7 separate regions of the Homo sapiens genome follow, and all the other regions are linked to region 1. Evidence: promoter capture Hi-C in 16 types of primary human blood cells and fetal thymus (Javierre and others, 2016). All regions are on one chromosome and are shown on one strand. The core of a region is centred on a gene start or on the middle of the fragment in contact, and the rest is flanking DNA. Distances in the headings are between cores, read along the strand shown.

The links. Contacts are between HindIII fragments. The CHiCAGO score rates a contact against its expected background, and 5 or more counts as called.
Region 2: a fragment that was not itself captured here is called in contact with the fragment with the promoter of ARHGAP24 in region 1 in 7 of 17 cell types (total B cells, naive B cells, M2 macrophages and 4 more); the score reaches 21.0 in total B cells.
Region 3: a fragment that was not itself captured here is called in contact with the fragment with the promoter of ARHGAP24 in region 1 in 2 of 17 cell types (total B cells and naive B cells); the score reaches 9.5 in total B cells.
Region 4: a contact is called between a fragment that was not itself captured here and the fragment with the promoter of ARHGAP24 in region 1, in 2 of 17 cell types (total B cells and naive B cells). The highest score is 6.7, in total B cells.
Region 5: a fragment that was not itself captured here is called in contact with the fragment with the promoter of ARHGAP24 in region 1 in 5 of 17 cell types (total B cells, naive B cells, M2 macrophages and 2 more); the score reaches 23.3 in total B cells.
Region 6: a fragment that was not itself captured here is called in contact with the fragment with the promoter of ARHGAP24 in region 1 in 1 of 17 cell types (naive B cells); the score reaches 5.4 in naive B cells.
Region 7: a fragment that was not itself captured here is called in contact with the fragment with the promoter of ARHGAP24 in region 1 in 6 of 17 cell types (total B cells, naive B cells, M1 macrophages and 3 more); the score reaches 25.2 in total B cells.

The regions. Positions count from the first base shown.
Region 1 is chr4:85,473,255-85,476,923 of GRCh38, forward strand. It overlaps ARHGAP24 (Rho GTPase activating protein 24), which reads left to right and starts at 1,896. Exons shown (of 10, transcript NM_001025616.3): 1 at 1,896-2,305. The HindIII fragment of the contact is 5,990 bases long and covers 1,186-3,669 here.
Region 2 is chr4:85,723,823-85,727,491 of GRCh38, forward strand. The region is part of intron 3 of ARHGAP24 (Rho GTPase activating protein 24); the gene reads left to right. LOC124900728 (a long non-coding RNA gene) reads left to right here. Exons shown (of 2, transcript XR_007058169.1): 2 at 1-822. Among named protein-coding and RNA genes, the nearest start is that of MIR4451, 3.2 kb to the left of the region's middle. The HindIII fragment of the contact is 966 bases long and covers 1,126-2,091 here.
Region 3 is chr4:85,225,293-85,228,961 of GRCh38, forward strand. No RefSeq gene overlaps it. Among named protein-coding and RNA genes, the nearest start is that of ARHGAP24, 250 kb to the right of the region's middle. The HindIII fragment of the contact is 706 bases long and covers 1,336-2,041 here.
Region 4 is chr4:85,242,637-85,246,305 of GRCh38, forward strand. It overlaps the pseudogene LOC100526736. Among named protein-coding and RNA genes, the nearest start is that of ARHGAP24, 230 kb to the right of the region's middle. The HindIII fragment of the contact is 1,553 bases long and covers 814-2,366 here.
Region 5 is chr4:85,694,145-85,697,813 of GRCh38, forward strand. The region is part of intron 2 of ARHGAP24 (Rho GTPase activating protein 24); the gene reads left to right. Among named protein-coding and RNA genes, the nearest start is that of MIR4451, 26 kb to the right of the region's middle. The HindIII fragment of the contact is 2,334 bases long and covers 465-2,798 here.
Region 6 is chr4:85,268,294-85,271,962 of GRCh38, forward strand. No RefSeq gene overlaps it. Among named protein-coding and RNA genes, the nearest start is that of ARHGAP24, 210 kb to the right of the region's middle. The HindIII fragment of the contact is 3,414 bases long and covers 1-3,401 here.
Region 7 is chr4:85,675,412-85,679,080 of GRCh38, forward strand. All of the region lies in intron 2 of ARHGAP24 (Rho GTPase activating protein 24), which reads left to right. Among named protein-coding and RNA genes, the nearest start is that of MIR4451, 45 kb to the right of the region's middle. The HindIII fragment of the contact is 2,319 bases long and covers 855-3,173 here.

The DNA of each region.
Region 1 (3,669 bases), core at 646-3,145:
TTTCTAGCTTAAGATAATCACATATATCACACACACCAATGAAGTGCTATCAGTTGGAAAGGGTGGAGACAGAACCAGAAGATGGGAAGGAAAAGGCCTTGAACACAGCCTGTGTGTGTATTAGAGGTGTGTCTTAATCTTTTGGACTAGGGACTACCCAGTAACCACCCTGAGTTCAGTTTTGTATCACTTTGAGACTAAACTGCTGTGGTAATATTTGTTAGACCCTGAAATAAATTACTGACATGACAGTTTCCTTGTTTTTTTAAATGTCCCCATCTTGAATCATAATTATTGGTACTTGTCTTCCTGAGGCTTTTGAGTCCATCAAATGTGTGCAAATTTCATTTGGGTTAATGTTATTTTCCAGCTTTCATCTGAAACTGCCCATCAGCATTCACCTGCTAGGGTGTTGCTAGAACATGTAAGGCCATGTGGGTTGATGAAGGTAATTTATTCCCACCAATTGGAAAATAAGCTACATTACTTCTAGCTTAGGAATTCCATACATATTTTTAAAATGAAATATGAAACGCAATTTTTTCCCCACACAAATTAATTTGATTCATTAAAGGGCTGAGAATTCTCCCACCAGAAAATCAAGTTTATAGTAGGACCTCAGCATGGGATGGGGTAGATTCGTTTCTCCAAGAACTTGGAGAAAGAGGACAAAAAGGAAAAACATATCAGTGTCCACTCAGCCTTTTATTTTTGGTGTTTCTAAAACTAAACATTTGCTCTTCTTCCATATCCCTCTCTCACTGGAGATCCCTAGTGAGGACACCCCCATTCTGTGTCTTAAGGATATCTGGTGATGATTTCTAAAAGAGAGTTTCTTTTATTAGTAGTAGCAGTAGTAATTGTTCGAGACGGGGGTGTCACTCCGTCACCTAGGCTGGAGTGCGCTGGCACAATTATAGCTCACTGCAGCCTTGACCTCCTGGGCTCAAGGGATTTTCCCGCTTCAGCCTCCTGAGTAGCTGGGACTACAGACATACGCCGCCACGCCCAACTTTTTTTTTATTTTTTTAATTTTTTTTTTATAGAGACAGGAGTCTCATTATGTTGCCAATTTTGGTCTGAAACCCCTGGGCTCAAGCGATCCTCCTGCCTCAGCCTTCCAAAGTGCTAGGATTGCATGACTGATCCACTGTAAGTGGGTTTCTAAAACAGAGATCTTTACAAAGCTTTTTGAAATAATTTGACTCAGCATGCCAGGTAACCAGAACTGTAAGATCACAATTTGAAACAGACATTGTGGTGATGGTGGGAAGAGACGGCCTGCATCAAAACAATGTTTACTAGTTTGTCCTTTTGTCCCATATTGTGTAACTCCGAGAGTTCTTACACCACCGTAAGAAAGTAATTATACTTTGAATTTCTCTAAGGCTCTAGTTAGAGAGCATCCATCTAAATGTGCATTTCCAGGAATATTGCTTTAATGGCCCAGGTAATTCTAATTGGAGAAATAAAATGTTAGCGAGACAGAGTTGGTAGAAGCAAGTAAAACCGGTGTATGGGGTTTGGCCAATGAAATGCAGAGCTCCTTGAGGGCAGGAGACATGTATTCACCAACCTTCTCGCGCCCACAGCCCCAGATCTGTGGCCAACAAGTATCTATGATGCACTTGAAAGGAACGAGCGATGCCAGATGCGGAGGAACCAGGCAGGGCGCATTCTGTCAGTGGCGCCAGGCGGTGTAGCTCCAGCTCTCAGATAACCCAGGCTTTGGGAGGGCGGGGCTCCTGCCGGCCTCCCCTGTAGTGCGGCTCGAGTCCTGTGAAGCTACCAGTTGCCAAATGAAATCTGAAACCTCGAGCTGTGTCTGAGGGTTGGCCCCACTCAGTTGTTCCAGCCTCTTGTACTGTATATTTACACATTCACACACAATCACCCTTTCTAACTTCTGGGACTCTTTGCGCAACTGCTAGGATTTCTCAAGTGCATGTGGCAACACAGCCCAGCTCCGGGTGGAAACCAGCAGGGCTCTGGAGGGGCTCGGAGACCAGGGGAGCTGTCAAGGCTGCGGCGGGGACCAGAGAGGAGCCTGGCGGGGGTGGCTGGGTGGCTGGGGGAATCCCCCCAACTTCCCATCGCAGGCGCAGCTCTCTCGGCCGCCTATTTCCTCCGAAACCCGCGCTGCGGAGCAGCCCAGTGCATAGAGTTCAACACTTCCCCTTGTTGTGGAAAGTAAAGGAGCCTCACTACCACCTTTTTTTCTTTGCGTTTTCTTACTGCTGGTCCTGGGAGCCTTTTCCTTCGGAGCAGCAGCCCTGTCCGGCATCTGTCTTGAGCTCCCAGCAAGGTAGGTGATGCGGTCGCGAGGAAGTGCGCGGAGCTACCGCGGGAAGGACGGACGCGGCTGCCTGCGCCAGGGGAGGGGGCTGCGGGGGGCGGGGAGGGGGCTGCGGGGGGCGGGGAGGGGGCTGCGGGGGGCGGGGAGGGGGCTGCGGGGGGCGGGGAGGGGGCTGCGGGGGGCGGGGAGGGATCGCAGGAATCCCGTGCTGATGTAGCCTGTCTGTGTTTGTGTGTGTGTGTGCGCGCGCGCGCATGTTTGTGCCGGGAGACAGCAAGCTGGTAGTATGTCTTTCTGGCTTTAAAAATAGATGGAATTAATAAAAACCCTTTGTACAATTCAATTTCCTCTCTTGGTATCCATCCTCCCCTTCCCCTTGTTTGTTTCCTCTAGTATCTTATAGGAGTTCCCTATGTAACAGGCGCACAAAGATAGGTTTTAATAATAAGCATATATATTTGCAAAAATATATATTTTATATGTATAAAATATGTTTTAAAATATTTATAAATATATTACATATTAGAAATATATATTATAAAATATATACATATATTTGTAAACACAAAACGTTAGGGAATCTTTGGTGAATTTGAAGCCACTCAAAAGATTTTGTCCAAATGTTTTTAAAAATAACATTTAATGATAAACATGTAATATGGTCTCGTTTTTAGAAAATACTTAAGACTACATTTATTTTATACGTACCCAAATAGAAGGGAGACAATGTTACTCTGAATTCCTTAGATAGATTTTCAGCATCAACCAGTAATAGGGAGCCCAGACTTCTTTGTAGACTATATCTCGTTTAATTCATTTGAATTAAACAAGTAATTTCTCCAAGTAATTTCTGTTTCCAGCACATTTTATGTTACTCTTTTTTTAACCTTCCACGGCATCATTGTTTCATCTCTTTCTAAAAAGGAAATAAATAAATCGTGCTGAGTATTTGGAATATAAAAGTTGTTAAGGCTTTGCTTATACATAAATACATAAATAAAACAATATGTGTTGCTATGTCTACTAAGTAAGACAAATTCATTGGAATCCAGGGATATTTGCAGTAGAGTTTAAGAGCTTTACTCAGTTACTGAGTAGAAGATGTACAGACGGATTAAATACAAACAATCTGTCCCCAGTTCCAATTAGAACTCAAAACCAATCCTTCAGGGCAAAAATGGATGACGCTATTGAACTGGGCATTGTAAAATAAAACACACAGAATGTATGTATTAGAAAAAGCCAGAAAACAGCCATAAAGTCACATCAGACTTGTGAAGATCTCACTCCCCCTTTTAAATTTCTTAATTCTTCCTCTTTTCTGGGCATATTTCAACTTGTAAGAGAGCTCAGTAATAAAAGTTACCATTTTA
Region 2 (3,669 bases), core at 359-2,858, 250 kb after region 1:
TTGACATCAGGATGGCATTTCTAGGCAAATGCTTTTGTACTTCTGTGATAATGTGGGATCTGTATCAGGTTATTTTCATCAATATTTGCATTATTGGGGTTATTTAGGGATAACATAACAATTACTTTATCTTTGCAAATGGGAATGACAAGATAATATTTTTCAATTTTTTCAATGGTGTAATTGTTTAACATGATAATTTGGGATGTTACAACAGAGTGTTTTTATTTGTCAGAATGCATAGGAGGCAGCAAGGATTGCAGAAATGTGGTTGGTAATGTGTATAGAACCCTCGGCAGGCCGTGGGCCTACCTGGCAGCAGATCCTCATAAAGCATATTTATTCTAGATTGGCTTTCTCTATAAAATTCTTTCAATTGCCACTTCTGAAAATCTATCATAAAGATGATGCTTACAAACCCAACAAGTGTCTATCTTTACGGATAGCTAACTCAAGCCTAACTCTCCAGAGTTTATGAGTGAGTAGGAGAGGATTACATATTTTAATTTCATCTGCCCATAATGATTTCCAACAAAACTAACAAAAGCCTCTAGCAAGCTCTTTGCCATATATTTTAGCACTATATGCATACGTACACATTTGTGTGTGTGTTACGAATACAGTTTATCCATATGTGCACTGTATGTCCTTATAATTTTTCCATGTGTGTATATATATATATATATATATATATATATATATATATAGGAATTTTTATTTTGTTTTATTTTTGCTTTTGCTTTATGCTGAAATATCCCATGAAACCAAGGAAAATCATATTAAAAAAACAAGAATTTTCAATAAAATTGAGCGTCTCAGGTCTTTGTGTATTACTTATTTATATTTGTTTACAAATTATATTTGTATGCATATTTTAGGCTTTTGTAAAAACCTATCTGAAAATAAATCTACCATGTTTTAGGGTTGATTTCCTATAGATTCATTATCCTATGAAATGAATTATCTCTCTGAATAATGCCATGAGTTATAGATTTTTCGCTCCAAATTTTTCCTATTTCTCTACTTGTTATTCAAAGGGATATCAGCCAAATTGGCAAATTTGAAGTCTTCTCTTTCAGACATGCCAAATTTTAGACTGAAGTGAACTATTATGGCCAAAGTCCAAGCTTTTGGGAAATGTGGTTGAGAAAGAAAGATTGGCAAATCTTTAATGAACAGTTCTTGAAGAAAGAACATGCAGTTGGTTTCTGCTTCTCTAAATGTGTTCTAGTTGAATTTTCCTTGAAATGTTTTAAAAAAATAAAGAGTAGTTATTGGAATAATGATGCCTTAGCTTTCTTAGGAAAGAAGTTTCTCAGAGAAAAAAATAAAATGACAAAGAAACAGACAAGAAATAGGCAAAACAAGACAAAGGAGGACTATATGTATCTCCATATATTTAGAAACCACATCTTTCTTGCTTTTTACTGTATACCTAACACCTGGAAATAGCACAGTATAACATATGGTGCTAAACAAATATTTCTTGAAGTGCATATATTTACCAGGCTTATGGAAGAATCTCAGTCATATGAAACTGCCCCCACTCTGCTATGTTGAACTATTTCCTGTTGCATAGGACCTTTTCTCCCCTGTTCCCGCAAAGACCTCTTTGTCACTCTAGTGGCAAAAGTGAAGAGAAACTCCTTACATGTTTCCTTTCCTACTTTTCTGCCTTCCTTTCTGATGATGAGACCAAGAGACGGATGGAAGAAGGTAGAGATCTTCCTACACAGATGATACTGCTGGGGCATAGCCCCTTCACACTGACTGGTCGTTACAGACTTTCCTCTCTAAAGGCTGAATCTTTCACAGATGCATTTGTGGATTTTTCAGGGTCTCTGGAATTAGAAATCCACTTCACATGCTAGTATTCTCCCAGCATTGGGATAGTCCTGTTGGATGGGATACAGCGAAAGGCCTCAAAGGCCAGCTGCTTGCTTTGTGTTTATTCAGCAACTAGGAAACTCATGTACCCTGGCCTGCAACGTAAGGGAAATGCAGGCTGTTCCACTGTTGCTGCCTCCTTTGGCTTGTCACTTTCTCCAGGGGTTATCAGCTTCAGTGCCCAGCAAGGTCAGTGGCTTGCCAAGCTTCAGAGGCCATCATGAGTCCCTGACTTAGAGAAGGAGTGAGTCACTGTTCTAACACACATCAAAATTTACCAGCAATACTCTTGTTCTGATAGTTGGGAGAATTCCTAGTCCTCCCCCTCAAAAACCAGTGCTGATTTTGAAAACTGCTTCCTCCAAGTAGCACTTCCTCTTTTCTAGTTTCCCCCTCAAAACAGTCAGGGCCATTTGGGTTCTCAGAAGTGCAATGCTTTCTCTCAGTAAACCTGGCAGAGAAGTGGCTAGGTGCAATTTCCATCGGTCTTTTCAGCTTAGAATGTGGAGTTTTAGCCTCTTTTGGGGGGTGGGGGGTGGACCTTAGCTGCAGTTCCTGGATAATGGGGATAAAACGTTTTATTTACATCTATCTATAATCTTAGATTGGATTCCAGGAAACACGCTGATGGAGAATGACATTAGATTGTCATGGGAAAGGTTCTCCGAAGATATTTTTTCTGCAAGAAAGTGAGGAAAGCAGGATGCGACAGGAACACCTGCCCTGCAACGCTGTAGCAACTGAAGTCTTAGCTGATCCAGTGGGGTCCCCTGAGGCGGTGATCCCTCTCAAGTTTGCTTCAAACTGAGGGGCTGGGGCTTTGTTTCCTCTTGCTAACTAGTCATTGATTGGGAGCAGGAAGACAGATAAACTTGGGTGAAGCTGTTCCTGCTGCGTTGTAGAACAATTCCCATGAGAATCTCTTTGTGCCTTCAGCAACCAATATACCAGTCTTTGGGATCTAGAGAGAGTACTACAGTATCCGTTATAATGTCTGTAGCCTTATCAGTATCTAGACATCTGTATTCCAGGCAATGTTCCAGGCTGTTTGCACGTATCGCTTTATTTAATCCTTACTACAACTCTATGAGGCAAGCAATGTCATTATCTTTATTCTGCAAACGACAGATCTGAGGCACAGAGAAGTAATTTGATCCAGGTTAAAAAGCTAACACTGGGCCAGGCGCTGTGGCTCACGCCTGTAATCCCAAAATTTTGGGAGGCCGAGGTAGGGGTATCACCTGAGGTGATCCTGAGGTTGGGGCTTGGATCCAAGGTGGGGGGATCCTGAGGTTGGGACTTGGAGACCAGCCTGACCAACATGGAGAAACCCCGTTTCAATAGAATATTAAAACACAAAATTAGCTGGGCGTGTTGGTGGGCGCCTATAATCCCAGCTACTCAGGAGGCTGAGGCAGGAGAATCCCTTGAACCCAGGAGGCGGAGGTTGTGGTGAGCAGAGATCTCACCATTGCACTCCAGCCTGGGTGACAGAGTGAGACTCCATCTCAAAAAATAAAGTAAAAAAGGCCTGGAGCCTATTTTCTGAAATATGAGCATGTGAAGTTATTTTTTGAACTGGAATGGATACACTGGTATCTTTCCAGACTCATTCATTAAGAATGAGAATTTTGGCACTTGATAAGAGTAGGCATTTTTGTTTTTTAGCACCTATTTATAATACAATATATAATACAAATAGGCACTAGATAGAGATGCCCACTTACAGTTCTTTTGAAAGCATGTTCTAAGGCTACAACAATCCCATCATGAAAAAGTGGG
Region 3 (3,669 bases), core at 439-2,938, 250 kb before region 1:
TGCAATCGCTTTTGAGGAATTGGTCATAAATTCTTTCCCAAGTCCAATGTCTAGAATGGTGTTTGCTAGGTTTCTTTTAGGATTCATATAGTTTGACGTCTTTCATTTAAATCTTTAACCCATCTTGAGTTAATTTTTAAATCTTTAACCCATCTTGAGTTAATTTTTATGTACAGTAAAAGGCAGAGACCAGTTTCATTCTTCTGCATACAGCTGTCCAGTTATCCCAACAGCACTTATTAAATACTGAGTCCTTTTCTCTTTGTTTTTTGTTGACTTTCTTGAAGATCACATGGCTGGAGATGTGCGGCTTTATTTCTAGGTTCTCTGTCTTGCTCCACTGGTCTATGTGCCTACTTTTTCTTTTCTTCTTCTTCTTTTTTTTTTTTTTTTTACTTTTTTACCCATAACTTGCTGTTTTGATTACTGTAGGCTTATAGTATAGTTTGAAGTTGGCACTTATATATGAATTTCTTTTGGCAGTAAGACCATTTAAACAGTATTTATTCTTCCAATCCATGAGCATATAATGTTTGTTATTTGTTTGTGTCACCTCTGATTTCTTTCATCAACAGTTTTTCTCATAGAGATCTTCCACCTCCTTGTTGAGATGTAGTCCTAGGTATTTCATTTTACTTGTGGCAATTGTAAATTGGATTATTTTCTTGATTTACTCTCAGTCTGTACATTATTGATATATATATAAATGATACTGATTTTTGTACATTGATTTTGTATCCTGAAACTTTACTGTAGTCATTTATCAGTTCTAGGAGCCTTTCACAGAGTCTTTTGAGCCTTTCACAGAATCATACCATGAGCAAAGAGAAATAAATTTACTTCTTTTCCTATTTGGATGCCTTTTATTTTCCTCTCTTTCTTGATTGCTTTGGCTAGGACTTCCAGTACTATGTTGAATAGGAGTGGTGAGAGAGGGCATCCTTGTCTTGTTCCATCTCTCAAAGTGAATACTTCCAGCTTTTGTCTATTCAATCTGATGTTGACTATGGATTTGTCATAGATGTCCTGTTATTATTTTGAGGTATGCTACTTTGGTGTCTAGTTTGTTAAGAGGTTTTTTTTTATCATAAGGAGATGATGGATTTTATTGTATGCTTTTTCCATGTCTATTGGAATCATATGGTTTTTGCTTTTGATTCCATTTAGGTGGTGCATCACATTTACTGATTTGCATATGTTGAACCAGGCCTGTATCCCAGGAATACAGCATACTTGATTGTGGTGAATTAATTTTATTAATATATTCCTTGGTTTGATTTGCTAGTATTTTGTTGAGGATTTTCGCATCCATGTTCTTCAAGGATATTGATCTAAAGCTTTCTTTTTGCATTGTTCCTCTTCCAGGTTTTGGTATCAAGCTGATGTTGGCTTCATAGAATGGGTTAGGAAGAAGCCCATTCTCTTCAATATTTTGGAATAGTTTCAGTGGGATCGATATCAGATTTTCTTTGTACATCTGGTAGAATTTGGCTATGAATCCATATGGTCTAGGGATTTTCTTTTTGGTTGTTAGGATTTTTATTACTGATTCAACTTCAGAACTCCATATTTGTCTATTCAGAGTTTCAATCTCTTCCTGATTCGATCTTGGGAGAATGTGTGTTTCAAGGAATTTATCAATTTGCTCTAGATTTTCTAATTTGTGTGCATACTTCTTTATAGTAGTGTCTGGGAATCTTTTTTTTTTTCCTATAGGATCAGCTGTAATGCCATCTTTGTCATTTCTGCTCGTACTTCTATCTTCTCTTCCTTTTTCTATGTTAATCTAGCTAGCACTCTACCGATCTTGTTCATTCTTCTGAAAAAAAAAAAAAAAAACCTCTTTCATCTTTTGAATGGATTTTTGCATCTCAATTTCACTCAGTTTTTCTCTAATTTCAATTATTTTTTTCTTCTGCTAGCTTTGTGTTGGTTTATTTTTGTTTTTCTACTTCCTTTAGGTGCTAAGTTAGATTGCTAATTTGAGACCTTTATAATTTCTTAATGAAGGTGTTTCTTTAATCTCAAGTGAGATTGGAGAAGCTTTTGTGGACTATATCATCAAATATATTTTTCAAATTGCTTTTTCTCTCTTCTCACTCAGAATGCCAATGAGTCATAGATTTAGTCTCTTAACATAATCCCATATCTCTTGGATATTTTGTTTATTTTTTAAAATTATTTTTTCTTAATTTTTGTTTGACTGAGTTGATTGAAAGACCTGGTCTTCAAGCTCTGAGATTCTTTCCTCAGCTTGGTCTATTCTACTGTTAATACTTCAGATTGTATTATGGAATTCTTATAAAGGATTTTTCAGCACTAGGAGTTTGGTTTGCTTCTTTCTCAACATGGCTATTTGATCTTTCAACTCTTGGATCGTGTTAGTGGATTCCTTGGATTTTGTTTCAACTTTTTCTTGTATCTTAATGAGCTTCTTTGTCTTTAAGATTATGAACTCTATCTGTCATTTGAGACTGGTTGAGAACCTGTATTAGTCCATTTTTATGCTGCTGATAAAAACATACCTGAGACTGGGTAATTTATAAAGAAAAAGAGGTTTAACGGACTCACAGTTACACGTGGTTTGGGATGCCCTCACAATCATGATAGAAAGCAAGAAACACATCTCACATGGTGGCAGACAAGAGAGAATAAGAACAAGGGAAAGTGTTTTCCCTCACAAAACCATCAGATCTCATGAAGCTTATTCAGTACCATGAGAACAGTATGGGGGAAACCACCCCCATGATTCAATTATCTCCCCCCAGTCTCTCCCACAACATGTGGGAATTATGGGAGCTACAATTCAAGATGAGATTTGGGTGGGGACACAGCCAAACCATATCAGAACCATTGCTGGGAGCTAGTGGTATTGCTATTGCTTGGAGAAGGGGACAGTCTCGATTTTTGAATTGCCAGAGTTCTTGTGCTGATTCTTTCTCATCTGGGAGGGTTGGTGTTCCTTTAACTGTGGTGTAAGTTAAAGGAATGTCAACTTCACTGTAGTGAAGTCAGTTGGATTTTTAAAAATCTTTTTAGAGGGTCAAGGCTCTGTGCAGGGTTTTTATTTGTAGCTGAATTCTTGCCCTTGGTTTCATAGGGGGATATATTAGCAAAATATTTTTGGCGTTGCAGTTTGGGCTGTGAGCCAATAGATGATGCTAAAGAGTAACTGCTGGAAGATAGACGTGCTTAGCCATGTGATTCCTATGTATTTCCTCATGTTTGCAGCCATACTCTATGGTGTTGGGGGAGGAGAGGTGACCCTCTCATCAGGTCTACTCCTGGGCCTCTGGGAGCCCCCTCCAATCACTGGCACTGTACTTGGTTTTCTTTTATTAGGTGTTTCAGGCTATGGGGCTTACTTTTGTAGAGGCCGTACAGGGAGACAGTTCACACAATTTCTGGACTGGCCCTGCAGAAAGAGGCATGTCCTACTCTTGTGCCAGCCCACAGAACCACATGTCTCATCCCTCTCAGTGTTCTGAGGGTGTTGGCTCCTCCCCCAATTAAATGCCAGCCACAAATTTTAGCTTGGCACTCCCAAGCTGCACAGTGTAGCCTGGGGTACTGGGAATGTCTTGTGGCTTCATCCTCTGGACACTGAGGGTTGGGTATAGGTGCAATGGAAAATCTGAAGTGTTCACAGGACAACAGAAATGTACTTGG
Region 4 (3,669 bases), core at 340-2,839, 230 kb before region 1:
CTTCTTTGAATAAATGCCTATTTAACTCCTTTGCCTATTTGTAAATTGTTTTTATGTTGAGTTTTAGGAATTCTTTATATACTCTGGAGACCAACCCTTCATCGGGTATGATTTGCAAGTATTTTCTCTCATTCTGTGGGTTCTCTTTTTACTCTTTTGATAATAAATTTTGATGCATAAATTTAAAACATTTTGAATGAAGTTTATCTAGTTTTGTTTCTTTTGTTGCCTGTGTCTTTTTTGTTATATCTAAGAAATATTTGCAGAATCCAGTGTTGTGAAGCTTTTGCCCTTTGTTTTTTTCCTAAGAGTTTTATTGTTTTAAGTCTTGCATTTAGGTGTTTAATCCATTTGGGGTTAATTTTTGTGCATGGTGTTTGGTAAGAGTTCAACTTATACTCTTCCGTATTAAAAGAGTATACTTCCAATCTCATATATTTTTGTCATTCTTGTTTTTCAATGGACACGAGAAGCTATCTTCTTGGTAAAGCAAAAATATAAATTTATGAGTTTAGCTCAAATAGCCCATTCTTTCTGCCTTTCCCCAGCTCCTTTTACTTTACATATCTATCCTCAGCTCTCAACCAACCCTCTGTTACTTGGCTTGTAGATCCCACTTATGATTATTATTTATGTCCTTAAAGATGTGCAATCTGCTTGCAATTTTTACTTTCTTATAAGTGGGAATTTTTATAATCTTTACAAATGGAGTCACATTGGGCATAATCTAAATCCCTTCCAAATATTGTGTAGATCTAGCTACTGACTTTATGTTTTATGTTTTTTGGTTGTGGTTGCTAATATTTATAAATAAGCTTGTAAAAATTACTAGTTATTTCTCTTAGCAAAATTACAAGAAGGAATCATTAGCTATATACTGCTAAAATAGATTGTCTTAATAAGAAATATCCAAGAAAGGAGCTAATTAAAGTAATAATCATGTCTTTGGACAAGACAGTTGAGAGAAGATATAGAGGAGGTGGAAATGGTTCAGTGCTAGAAAAAGCTCAAGGCTAGTAACTAGAAAGTGGCACTTACTTTTGCTCCTAAATTTAATCCCATCAGATACTCTCCTGTGCAGAACTGTCCAGTAAACTGTCAGCCACGAACTGCATACCTTCTCTCTCACTGTGTTGTGTTTACCTTTTTTTATGATTAGCAGGTGGAATGTTCAATTAACTGTAGAGCTAATATTACAGAAAACAATTGTCCAAAAAGTAGAGGACTCCCTTGAGTTCTAATAAGAAAGCAAAGATAAATAGCCAGGCTGCACATACATCCCAAGTTCTTTGGAATTGGGTTTATTAACAGAAACTGAAATATACAGAAGCAGTACCAACAGTGTGTACCTCTGTTCTTCTTACACTTTAGGGCAACACAGAGATCTAGCAGCACCAGACATCCACTTCCATTAGAGGGAGCCTGGTTGTGTGGTTAGGAAGTTGCCTGCTTGGGGAAAATCAGATCCTGTGCTGGCTTAATCAAGGGCACAGTAAAGGATCAAGAAGAGGTAGATCTTTGGCCCTGGTCCTGTTTCGCCACCTCAGCACCAGGTTAGGGGAGTACCAGCCATTCCATAGGCCTGGTCAGGGGTGGCAGCTCCTGTGCATTGATGATTCATTGGTCTGATCCACCACCTCAGAATTCTATTGGGATTGATTGTCTTTAGCACTCAGTTCCAGTTATTTCTTTGTTGCTCTACAGTTTTCTCTCTGAGCAGCTAACCTGTAAAATCAGACTATATATATATATACACATATAGCTGTTTTATATATATATATCAGCAAATTTTTGGAGGGGGACAAATTAACTCTTCTCTTTATGACCCCTCTTACAATTTCTGTAAGTACTCAAGCAACTGTACAGCGGGGACTGACAGAAAAGAATTCTTGGGACATCACAGTCCTTTCCATGGGGTACTGAAGGTCATAGTGGGACTGCTTTACAAGACAAGAGAGACTTGATTTTCAAGGAAATTTCAAGCTGGTTTAAAGGATGCTTCTTTTTTTATTTTTTGTATTATAATCATGCTGCTATAAAGACACATGTGCACATATGTTTATTGCGGCACTACTCACAATAGCAAAGGATGCTTCTTTAATAAAGTATTTGCATTTTTCACTTTGTAGCAGTAGCTCTTCAAGAGCCCCAGCTCTTAGCAAACCCATTTGCCAAGCACTTTAAAGTTTACATAGCTAAAATTAATAGGTGCTTACTAAGCTCTAGGCACACAATGGGGGCACTGCCATTATGTTTATTTTACAGATAAGAAATGAAGTCTCTGAAAAATTAGCTTACTCAAGGTAATATTGCTAATAAAGTGGTTGAACTGCAGTTCAAGTCCTAGTAGATATACATGGACCTCAAGCTTGCTAAAACCATAGCTTGTGAAAATACAAAACCTTGCACCTAGAATTATGCTAATTTTCAGGAGTCTTACATTGCAATGGCTTTTTAGCTCCTTCTGAATTCTTATGTTTTCATATGTTGACCCAGATATGAAATTCACATCTCTTTAGTTTTACTCCATATCGTCCATAGAAAGCATTGATTTATTGAGGGCTGCACGGTGGAGTCTGAGGAGAAGTATACAATACTGTGAAACAGATGACTTAATTCTCGACATAGGTGCTACCCATTTGAAAATATCTGCCCTTTGCATTGCCACTGCAAAGAACTTCTACCCATCTCAGCCTTTCTTGCCTTATTGGCTTCTCCTTTCTTCCTTCCTTTTTCTCCTTTCTGTAACTTCCTTTAAGGACCAGGCAAGAAAGCAAGAAAAACAACAAAACGACTTACCTTCTTTTTATATTTTTTAAACCGAGCAACTTTTCCTTCTCTGACGCTTTAGTGTCAGTCAAAGCCAAGGCCCTCAATATCTCACCTTCTATCTCAAGTACTTATAAGCATATTCACCCCCTTCCTTTCTTCCTCAAAAAGCTGTCATACGACGAGATGAATTCAAACATTCTTATGTGCATGATCAGTAGATGGAATACTCAATTAACCATAGAGTTTGAGGACTCATGCCTTACACCAAACTCCTCCTCTGCATGGACAGCGACCTTGTTCTGTCGCATCTAAAAGGCTTTCAGGATGGAAAATTCAGGAAGGAAATGAGGAAGAAGCTGGGAAAGAGAAGAGAAGGGGAAATGTATGTAGAAGGGGTCTGTTTTTTATTCTTCATGTTTTGGGGACTTGCTTTGCATGTGGACTTCTGAAATGCAAATTAAAAGGTTTATTTTTCTTAAAAACACCTGTCTTCTTTCACTGCCTGTTAAACTCCTTCTCTCCACTTGTTTTTCTTTTACCTTAATTCAGATAATGACCTCAAAAACACAAGAGCAAAAATATTTGCGAAAGGAGGGGATTTGGGGATAGGAGAGCAGGAAATCCTTTCCTTTAACCATCCTGTGTGCTACAACTGATAGGAATATAAAATAAAAGTTTTCTTACATCTTTTTTGAGAGTGGAGGAGAATGAGTTGAAATGTCCAGTGGGCCCCTCGCTCGGCCTGGCCATGGCGGCGGTGCTCTACAGACCGTGCCTCCCTAGGGCGTGGGTGTGCAGGAACGCCGGACAGGGCAGCGGCCGGCACTACCGTGCCACGATTTGCGCAGAGCTGAAGTAGTCCCTGACCATCGAAGAGGTGGCCCCCGCCCCGTCGGG
Region 5 (3,669 bases), core at 382-2,881, 220 kb after region 1:
TTCAAATTATGTTGTTTACTCAAAATTTTGGTCTTTCTTGGTGGGAGCAGCACTTTCTTGTGCATCTAGTCAGCCATCTTGTCCCTTCTCTTCAGCTCTTCTTTAATTTCAGAGAAACTACGGGATTGTTCAAGTGGGAAAGAACCACTGGTGTTAAGGCAGGAGAAACTTGTAAATCAGCTAGGTGGTGCCGGAAGAACACGGGATTTGGAATCAGTCTGCCACTGGCATATATCAAAAATTCACTCATCAGCCAAACGTAAGCTCTAGTGGAGTAGGACCTTTATCTGTCCTATTCACCACGGTATACCAAGCATCTAGAGCAGCACAATCACTTTTTGAATGAATGGATAAAACCTTTAGTATTGTTATTAACAAGTATTAATAGTACTAGTAGCATTAATTTTTATAATCTCTAAATGACTAGAAAATGTTTCTATTGTTTGCAAACATGGAGAAAAAAAAGCTTCTCATCCTTGAAGACACTGTCCCTGACTTTCCCTCGGCCCCTCCACCCTCTGTGTGTGTGTGTGTATATGTGTTTTACATAACAGATATATACATGTATACATATATTTATTGATACATAACTGTGTTTTCTCAGGTTAAGTTTCAGGCTACAAAGAGTATGTTGGGCAAGTATATGAAAATATTAAAGAGTTTCCTTTCCTAATTATATCAATGGATCTTCATCTTGATATTGCTTTTTAGCTATGACGCTCTTGTCTTAAATAAAACTCCTCAAATAACAAGTCAGACCCACATGCCATACCTGAGTTATCAATTTCACACAAGATATTAATGGTAATAATTAAATGCAAGTGCAACTGTTAGCTCAATTACGACAACAACAATTAAAGTGGAGGTAAAATGTTATGCATAACACTCCAAGGTGTATTTTAGGCAAAATCTTCAGATTTTTTGTTTGGGATTTTAGTAGAAGAATTCAAATACCCAGACTTCATCTCAACTGGAAGATCTTAATGTTGTATATGCGTATTTTAGCTTATCTATTCTGAATTATTTCTGTGAAAAGTAAAGCAAAATAATGTTTTGGTTCCTGCATTTAGCCATCTCTACATAAAAAATTAAGTGATGCTGACACACAACTATGTAAGTTCTCTGCTACTTTCTAAAGACCATGGTTCATATTCTCCTAGATCATGGCATGTGCCCAATAAAGACAGGGTTTGCCTTCACCTAACATGTTTGCCTGTTACATGGGTATGGGGAAGGTTTAGCTAACTCCTGGTTCATTTATCTCAGTGAAAGAGATTAAAAATAAAAATATATTCCATCATAATAAGAATGCTCAATCATATCATAGATGGAAAAAAATCAAATTATTGTGGGAGGTCTCTTTGTAAACTAGCAACCTTCTATTTTGAGCTGGCAACCCCATTGTCATAGCAAATGTGATTATCAATGAAGGATTTGTACTCAATTTGATTGTCACTGACCCTGAAATATTGAAATTAATATGTTAAAAGTCTGAAGCTAAATAACTCACACCTAAGTCACTTGATGAGTTATAATAGCAGGAAGTCAAATAAATTAGAGATGAATGTTTTCAAATTAACTAATATGAGTTAATATTCATTAGAGTAAATTAATTTAATTTCCTCTTAGTTGAATTTGAATAACAGCAAATTAATTAGTGTAATATACTATGCAGTGTTTGTTACTTCCTATCTCAAATCCACAGTACATATGGTACCCAATAGCAAATACAATTCCATAGAGGACATGTACTGATATAGTATAACTTGAATTTATTTTCCTGAAGGAAATATATTGACAATGTTACAAATAATTTAAGGCAGCCAGAGGTATGAGCAGATTCCTTTCATCTATGTTTAGCCATACACAGATAAATGAGAATATAGTATTTTGTAGATAGACCAACTTTTTCATTATTTTAATCTCTCAGAATATATGAACTAGATTGGGAGTGCTGGGTCTCATTTAGGATCCAACAGCTTTTATTTTTATTAAAAGTGAGTTCTAAAATGCCCTATTTTTAAATTCCTAAAATTAAATTACATATTGAATGTATTTATTTCTTCCTGATTCATCATCAGCTTTTATTAGTGTTTTATTAGGATCCAACAGCTTTTATTTTTATTAAAAGTGAGTTCTAAAATGCCCTATTTTTAAATTCCTAAAAGTAAATACATATTGAATGTATTTATTTCTTCCTGCTTCATCATCAACTTTTATTAGTGTCTAACATTCAGATTGGTAACTTGAATAATGGGAAGAAAAGATATTTACACAATATTTTTACCATCAGAATAAGGAAAAGGTAGATGTTTATTCAGGAAATATACAATCCTATCTAGAATTCAATAAGCAGAATGATTTACCTGAGTCATTTCAGATTCATGAATTGTTTCCTTCCTTTTGTTAGCGTATTTCCATTTTCATTTTTAATGCCTGTAATGCTTTTGTATTATTTTAAGATAAGTTGAATGCCCTGTTATACATCTTAAGTTTTACATCAAATGGCAATTTAGTTTGCTGAAGTTGTCTCACAGACATAACATTCTTTCAACCTAACTCACAACTGGATTGTGCTTATTGTGAATAAAAGTACCCAACAAATCATGTTCATAGCTAAATCTGGGGCAGCACTTTCAACTGAGTAGAGGGAGAAGATGCCAGAGTTCCTTGCTGACTTATATGAAAGGACACCATGCAGAAATGGTGAGATAAAGGGAACATTGATCAACTTGTTGAGGATGGCCCTGTCTTGTCAGTGGAAAAAAGAGGCATTGAAAGGGATGAGTAATGACAGAAGCTTTTTTCCTAGTAGGATGCATATGGAGTGATAGTGGGATATAATCGTGAGCAATAATATCGGAGGATAATGAATGTGCCACAGTTGAAACTATAAGAAAAATCCCCTTTTAGTTTTAGAAAATCACTGGACCAACGATCAGCTAGTGAGGAAAGGGTCTCATGGTTTTGTGTTGTTTTCCATTAGTCAACTGGCATGCATTTATGCTGTCAGCAAAATTATTTATATTATTATTTATAGAGAGAATTACTTTGTCCTTAGCACTGGACTACATTCTAAAGAAGTTATGAAGAATAATGTAATGCTGTTTTGATACTCAAGGAGCTTAACTATCTAGTTGTGCACAGATAATGTGTCTGCATAGTTTGCTGAGAATGATGGTTTCCAGTTTCATCCATGTCCCCACAAAGGACATGAACTCATCATTTTTTATGGCTGCATAGTATTCCATGGTGTATATGTGCCACATTTTCTTAATCCAGCCTATCGTTGTTGGACATATGTAACAAACCTGCACGTTGTGCACATGTACCCTAAAACTTAAAGTATAATAATAATAAATTTTAAAAAAATATGTCTGCATAAAACCAGTGAACATACTTACAATAACATACTGCTGGCAGTAAGCTCAGCTGTGTAGCAGATAGTGAATAGGATAATATAGTTCTATTAATATGTTCTAGAAGACAGGTTAACATACTAAATGAAATGGAAGTCAATTGGGCTGTTTCTGAGGAAAAAAGTGAAGAAGGTAGAGGCTGAACTTTTAGGAATCAGAACACACTTGGAAGGACACTCCAGGTTAAGTGATGAGCATAAGAAAAACTCAGGAAGTGGAAACGGATGTTTCTGTGTGAGGTGGAGGAAGG
Region 6 (3,669 bases), core at 445-2,944, 210 kb before region 1:
TCTGAGTAAAAGAGAATTCCTTCTGCCTCATTGCTTTTGACTGGGACATTATCTTTTTTCTGCTTTGGACTCACACTGAAACACTGGCTAGTACTGGGTCTTGAGGCTATTGGCCTTAGACTGGAGCTATGCCGTCAGCGCTTGTGAGCCCCCAGCTTACCAACCCTGCACATCTTGGGACTTGTCAGCCGTCATAATTGCATCAGCCAGTTCCTTACAATAAATATATTTATGTATACAGCCGATTGGCTCTCTTTCTCTGGGAAACCCTGCTTAATACAGCAAGGAATTTAGTTATAAACATATCCTTTAGAATTATGGTGATATCAGCAGAAGATGTAAAAACCAAGGTAACTTCTAAAGAATGAGACTCAGAAAAAAGGATTTGGGTGAAAAGACTAGATTTTTTTGCTATTATAATATATTTTGTTATATACATGTATTAGATTATAAAAATAATAAAATACAAACCTAAAGAAATATATCTTTTAAATTATGAATTATATTTTATTCCTAGGTTTCTTGAAATATTTTCTTTCAAAGTCTTAATAACTATATCACATATATTGTGAAAGTGAGAAAAACTTACAATTCAAAGTAGTCAACTTGAATTTATAAGGCATGTCATAATTAGATCTTCTAACAAGCCTGGACAAGTAAGCATCTTTAAAGGTGTTAATTGCTCATTTCTCACAAGCAAATTGACTATTCTGCAGTTGGAGACTGAGTTTGATTAAGTTACCTCTGTTATTACATTACGTTGTATGAAAGTGCTATAAAGCAATGACTATATAGGGCTGGAAGGTGGCAAGATAGTTGAACCTAAGGCAATACGCTTTCAGACTGTTTTCGCTGTGTCATTAAGTGCTATGCATCATATTTAGCATGGTACTATGACAGATTTGAATAGAAAGGTCAGTGTTAAACTATCTGGAAAAATATGAGTTAGCAATATGTGAGTAAGCATCAGGCTAGGTGCATCAGTGGAAACTGAAAACTGATAACAATGAGCAGTGGACTGTTGACATACATATTTCTGATGTGATACATCTGTAATCAAGTCCAGAATGATTGTTTGACCTCCCAGAGATCATGGAAAAGCTGGGAGAACTAAATACCTTGTGAATCTAGAAGTCTTAGAGCAATGGATTGCTGTTACTACCTGCATCAAGCCATAATATCTAGTGGACAGACACAGTTATACAAATTGCAAATAATGTCAGGACTTCTCACTCACTTTAGGCACTCATAAACCACACAATGGATTTCAGTATAAACAAACAAATGAACAAAACCCCAAGGGAATCTCAGTGCCATTCCAGCCTTAGGAAATTGAATTTATAAGTCACATATATGATTAGATTCTCTAACAAGCCTGAGCAAGAAAATTCCTCTGAAACAGTTAACTGTTAATTCTTCCAAAGTAAATTGACTATTCTGCAGTTGGAGACTGATTTTGAATAAATTACTTCTCCTATTAAATCACATTGAATGCAAATGCTATAAAGTGATGTTTATATGGGACTGGGAAAGGTGTGAAAATTGCTGGAACAGTGAGAGAATACCTGTTAGAAATGTTCCACGTAGACCCCAGTACTTGCTGCTTAGGAACATGCCAAGTTACATATGAAAGATACTTTGTATGACCTTAGCTTGTATGCCAGACTCTGCCTGCCCTAAGCTGGCATCATCTCATCTTTCATCTCTCATGCATATAATCCGTTTAGGACAAAGCAGACACCATCCAGTTTTCTTGCCTCCAGCCACCATTCTATCAGCCATAATCCCAGAGAGTCAAGGGTTAGCAAACCCCAGGGGTGTTCAAAAACATTTTCTAGACATTATTGAATCCCTTATAGCAAAAGGCTATGAGATTTAGGGTAAAAAGATTATTACATGATAAACAGTTTAACTCAACAAGAAGATTTAACTATCATAAATATATGTGCACCTAACATTGTAGTACTCAGATTCATAAAACAAATACTTCTAGGCCTACAAACAAACTTAGACAGCCAGACTAGACAATAATAGTGGGAGTCTTCAACACCCCATTTACAGTGTGAGACAGATTATTGAGACAGAAAACTGACAATTCTGAACTTAAATTCAAAATATTGGAACTAATAGACATCTACAGAATACTCCATCAACCATAGAATATACATTCTTATCTGCATATGGAACATACTCTAAGATCAACCACATGCTTGGCCACAAAGTAATCTCAATAAATTTAAAAATTGAAATCATACCAATCATATTCTTGGACCACAGTAGAACAAAAATAGAAATCAATGCCAAGAAGATCTCTCAAATCAATACAAGTACATGGAAATTAACTTACTCCTGAATGACTTTTGGGTAAACAATGAAATTAAGGCAGAAATAAAAAATCTTTGAAATAAATGAAAAAGAGACACAACATATCAAAATCTCTATGATGCAGGAAAAGGAGTGTTAGAAGGAAAGTTTATATTGCTAAATGCCTATCTCAAAAAGTTAGAAAGATCTCAAATTAATGTTCTAACACCACACCTACAGGCACTAAAAAAATAAGAACAAACAAATCCCAAAGCTAGCAGAAGAAAATAAATAACAAAAATCACAGCAGGGCTGAAAGAAATTGAGACCTGAAAATCCATACAAAGAATTAATGAAACCAAATTTTGTTCTTGGAAAGGATGGACAAGATTGATGGACCACTAGCTAGATTAACAACAACAAAAAAAAGATCCAAATAAACACAACCAGAAACAAGAAAAATTACATTACAACTGATCCTACAGAAATAAAATAGATCTTCAGAGACTATAATGAACACCACTGTGCACATAAACTAGAAAATCTAGAGAAAATAAATTCCTAGAAACACACAACCTTTCAAGATCGAATCAGGAAGAAATTGAGACCCTGAACTGACTAATATTGAGTTCCTAAATTGAATCAGTCATGAAAAACCTACCAACCAAAAAAAGTCCTGGATCAGATGCATTAAAGCCAAATTCTACCAGACATACAAAGAAGAGCTAGTACTAATTCTACTGAAACTATGCCAAAAATTGAGGAGGAAGGACTCCTCCTTAACTCACTCTACAAAGCAAGCATCACTCTGATACTAAAACCTGTTTAAGACACACAAAAAAAGAAAACTGCAGGCCCATGAAAAATAAATGCAGGCCAATATTTCTGATGAATATAGACACAAAAATTCTCAACAAAATACTATCCAACTGAATCCAGCTGTGCTTCAAAAAGTTAATTCACCATTATCAAGATTATCAATTAGGCTTCATTCCTGAAAAGCAAGGTTGGCTCATCATGTGCAAATCAGTAATTGTGATTCACCACATAAGCAGAATTCAATAAAAAAAAAAGATCATCTCAATAGATGCAGATAAAGCTTTTGATAAAATCCCACATCTCTTCATGATAAAAACGTCAATAAACTAAGTGTAGAAGAAATATGGTTCCAAATGATAAGAACCATCTACGACAAACCCACAGCCAACTCCTATTTAACATAGTACTGGAAGTTCTAGCCAGAGCAAGGCAAGAAAAATAAGGCATCCAAATAGGAAAAGAAGTCAAACTCTTATCACTGATAATTTAATTATGTCCCTAGAAAACCCTAAAGATGCTACCAAATGGCTCCTAGCACTGATAAAT
Region 7 (3,669 bases), core at 764-3,263, 200 kb after region 1:
TTAGCAGGCCAGAATGAAAATAAATCTAACAGAAGGGCAGAATGGTTAATGTGCCTGAAACCCTGGATACTGCAGTGGCCAAAAGAACCTGGAAGGGTCTGTGAGACACTGGATTGCGGGGTAACAATTTATGGATAACCTTCTAACAAAAGATTTCCCGTAACATTTAAAGTTGGTGAGATCCGCCTTCCCAAGATGGTGGGCATTGCCAGTAGAAAGTCCCAGCTCCTGGAAAAGTGATTACATTGAGCCTATGGAGTCATTCCAACCATGTAAGGGCTTGGCGGTGACTGAAGTGTGCGCTTTGCTTTGCTTGACATTATGTTGAGCTTCAGTTGGCTTGTAGCTCATCTCATTTGACAAAGCAAAGCTGCCTTATTGTTTGAACATTCCTCTGATGTTTATGTGCTCCTATCCACTCAAAGTCATCAGGCAGGATGGTTAGAGCCAATGCTGTTCATATGTAATTATGTTTGCTTTGAAATGCATATCTGACTCCTGCCCTGGACCTCAGCAACTGAAGTGACATCCTGTATACAGTCCCTATTTTATGACACTGTCTCCCACTGTGAGGTAAAAGTTTCCTGGAAGATAACAAAATCAAAATGGAGAAGAAATGAAAACAGTTTCCTAAGTTATAAATAATTGATAATGATGATAAAATTGATGGTAAGTTTTCATTGCATAATTTGATTGATATGGCAGTTATCATAGCAGCCTTGAACAGAATGCTCTTGTGAACAAGATAATTCATCTCACTGAGTCTGTTTCGGCACAAATATTTTAAAATGAAAGGCATAATAAATCTGTACATAGAATACACACACTGGGCTGCCAAACCTGCCACCTGTTTAAGCTTTTAATGAGCAGTCCTGCTTGCAACAAAAAGCCATATCAAATTAATGCTGACATTTTTCTTTGCTGCTGCTGTGCATATTCCAGGGACTCAGAGAGATCATTTTGCAAAATCCTCTAAATGGGGCAAACTCTGATTTTTTTCATTATAATTTAACAACTGTTAAGCAAGCTCCCCCGGAAACTGTATTTACATCTGCAGCTCAGTTGGGGCTTGGGGTCTGGGTTTAGGGGTGGAGTTGGTAGTGTTGGGTAAGTGGAGGGTCTGAACTCTAACCAAGTGGGAAAAGAACACTGAACAAGGAGTTAGGAAACTTAAATGTTTGTCTTGTTTCTCCTATTGTTACCAATGGTCCTTTTGGCTCCCAAGGACCTATTGTAGGTATTCACAGTGCACATTTTAGGTCTGGAGTTGGGAAGAGCAAGGAAAAGGGTTATGAAAAGATCAGTATAGTGTCTGAGGGGGCCAAGCAGTACCCATTCATCTTTTCAAAGACTTGCAGAGACACGGAGAGCAATGTTAGCTCATTCCCTAAATATACTGCACTTTAATTCTGTCAAAAGAAGTAGTTGTTTTGAAGTACAATAGCATGGTAAGGAAAGGATTCCCATATTTCCTATTCCAGTGTCATTAAAAGAAACAGGTGAGAGCAGGACTTGAGAAGTGGCAGCACATGAAACAAGCAAGCAGAGCCACTGCCTTCCTGAGGCTACCAGAAGGGAGGCTCCAGCCACACAGGGTGGAAGAACCCAACGGGGGCAGAGCAGAGCACTCACACTGGGGGAAAACGATTTCGTACAGGCTTTTATACAACAAGAAGCATTCCTCTTGAGCAACGTGGATATCCTCTGAATCAAGTAGCTTTGATTAAATAAAGGTCATTAGCAACAGACACACATGCAAGCCATTGCTTTTCCTTTTGCTTTGCTCTTCTCTCTTTATCCTCCTCACAACATCTTAATGAGCTTTTAATCCTCCATTTATATGTTATGTTTATGTACAGAAATTTATCTTGTAGTCCTGACCTTGGCAGGCAACCCACATTTTATATGCACATTCAGGGGTGGGAAGGATTCAAGTTTGCTACCCAACCTAGTTAGGCACACAGCCGGTACCTCCCTGCTGTCCCTTAGAGTGACAGCCAGGGAACAATGAGCTTAATTAACCTATTTCACATTCAGAATATATTTCCAGATAGCCTTTGGACCTGGCAGACCACCAAGGATGTACTCATTTCTGCTGCTGCTGCTGTTAATGATGAAGTGAGTTTTTAACCATGAACAGTTATGAGTCCTCTGATAACATTTCAGTGGTAAAATTCCTTTGAGCTTTTCATTTATTTTAATAGTGATTCTGTAAAAGGAATAAAGTCCAGGTTTGCTGGCCAAAAGCAAGTGATGTCATGTGTACACCTAGTCTGTTTAGGTCAGAGATACACTTAACATCAAATGTCAGAAAAATGAGCACAAGCCAACTGTTTGTTGGTATTATGTATTAACTTTCCATTTTGTAGGCTCTTGTTTCTCACTAATTTTAATGTGCTAATTAATTTACTAGTTTATCAAGTTTTTAAAGAGCTGTTTCAGCCTGAAAAACATAGCAAGACCCTATCTCTATAGAGAATTAGCCAGACATGGGGCCGTGTGCCCGTAGTCCCAGTTATTGGGAAAACTGAGGCAAGAGCATCACTTGAGTCCAGGAGTTCGAGGATGTAGTGAACTGTGATTGTACTACTGTGCTCCAGCCTGGGCCAAAGAGTGAGGCTCCATCAAAGAAAAAAAAAAGAAAAAGGAAAAAAATTTTAAAAAAAGGCTATTCCTGGCCTGCCATGGTAACTCATGCCTGAATTCCAACACTTTGGGAAGCTAATGCAGGAGGATCACGTTAGGCCAGGAATTCAGGACTACTCTGGGCACCATAGTGAGACCCCATCTCTACAAAAAGTAAAAAAATTAGCATGGCATAGTGGTGACCTGCCTGTAGTCCCAGCTACTCAGGAGACTGAGACAGGAGGATCGTTTGAGCCCAGGAGTTTGAGGCTGCACTGAGCTATGATTGCACCACTGTACTCCAGCCTGGGTGACAAAGCAAGACTCTGTCTCTAAAACAAACAAACAAGCAAAAGGGCTATTTTCTTTGAAAAGTAGTATCAAAGTTCAACACAATCAAGAATTTTCGGTTCAATGCCCAAATTTGTTTTCATTTATAGTACTTTCAAAAAGAATTTAAAGGAATCACATAATGAAAGACACAAGCAAAACATTAAAACAAGAGCCAAATAATAAAGTCATTTGGAGAAATATGATTAATACCAGGAAGCTTCTGATTGTTCAGACTGTAATTCTAGGCAGTCAGGTTGAAAAAATGATCTGTAAAGTCAGCATCAATGTATCAGACTACAAACAGTGCAAAATAAAGTGTAACTACATTTTTATATAGCTCATATTCATCTGAATTTCAAATTCCTATTCTGACTGACAATAAAAACATGATTCAAACAAGTCTTAGTCATTTTCAGATTTACAGTCAGTTGAAACAGGATCTTTCCTTTCTCATCTCCAAAATGGACATTTTGTTATAGGAAGTACAAGGCTACAGCATCCAGAGAGGTGTCCGATGCATGCTGGCAATGTAGGGGCCAAGGGAAAATTTCCCTTTATCCTCTGAAGGTTTGCTAAAAGAAATCCATTGCAAAAAGCAGATTAACACAAGAAAAGATATTCAAATTTATTGACAGGCGCAGGAGTCACGCAAAATATAAGAACTCAAAGAAAGGCAAGATGGTTGACACTTTTATACCATCTTGAGGTTAC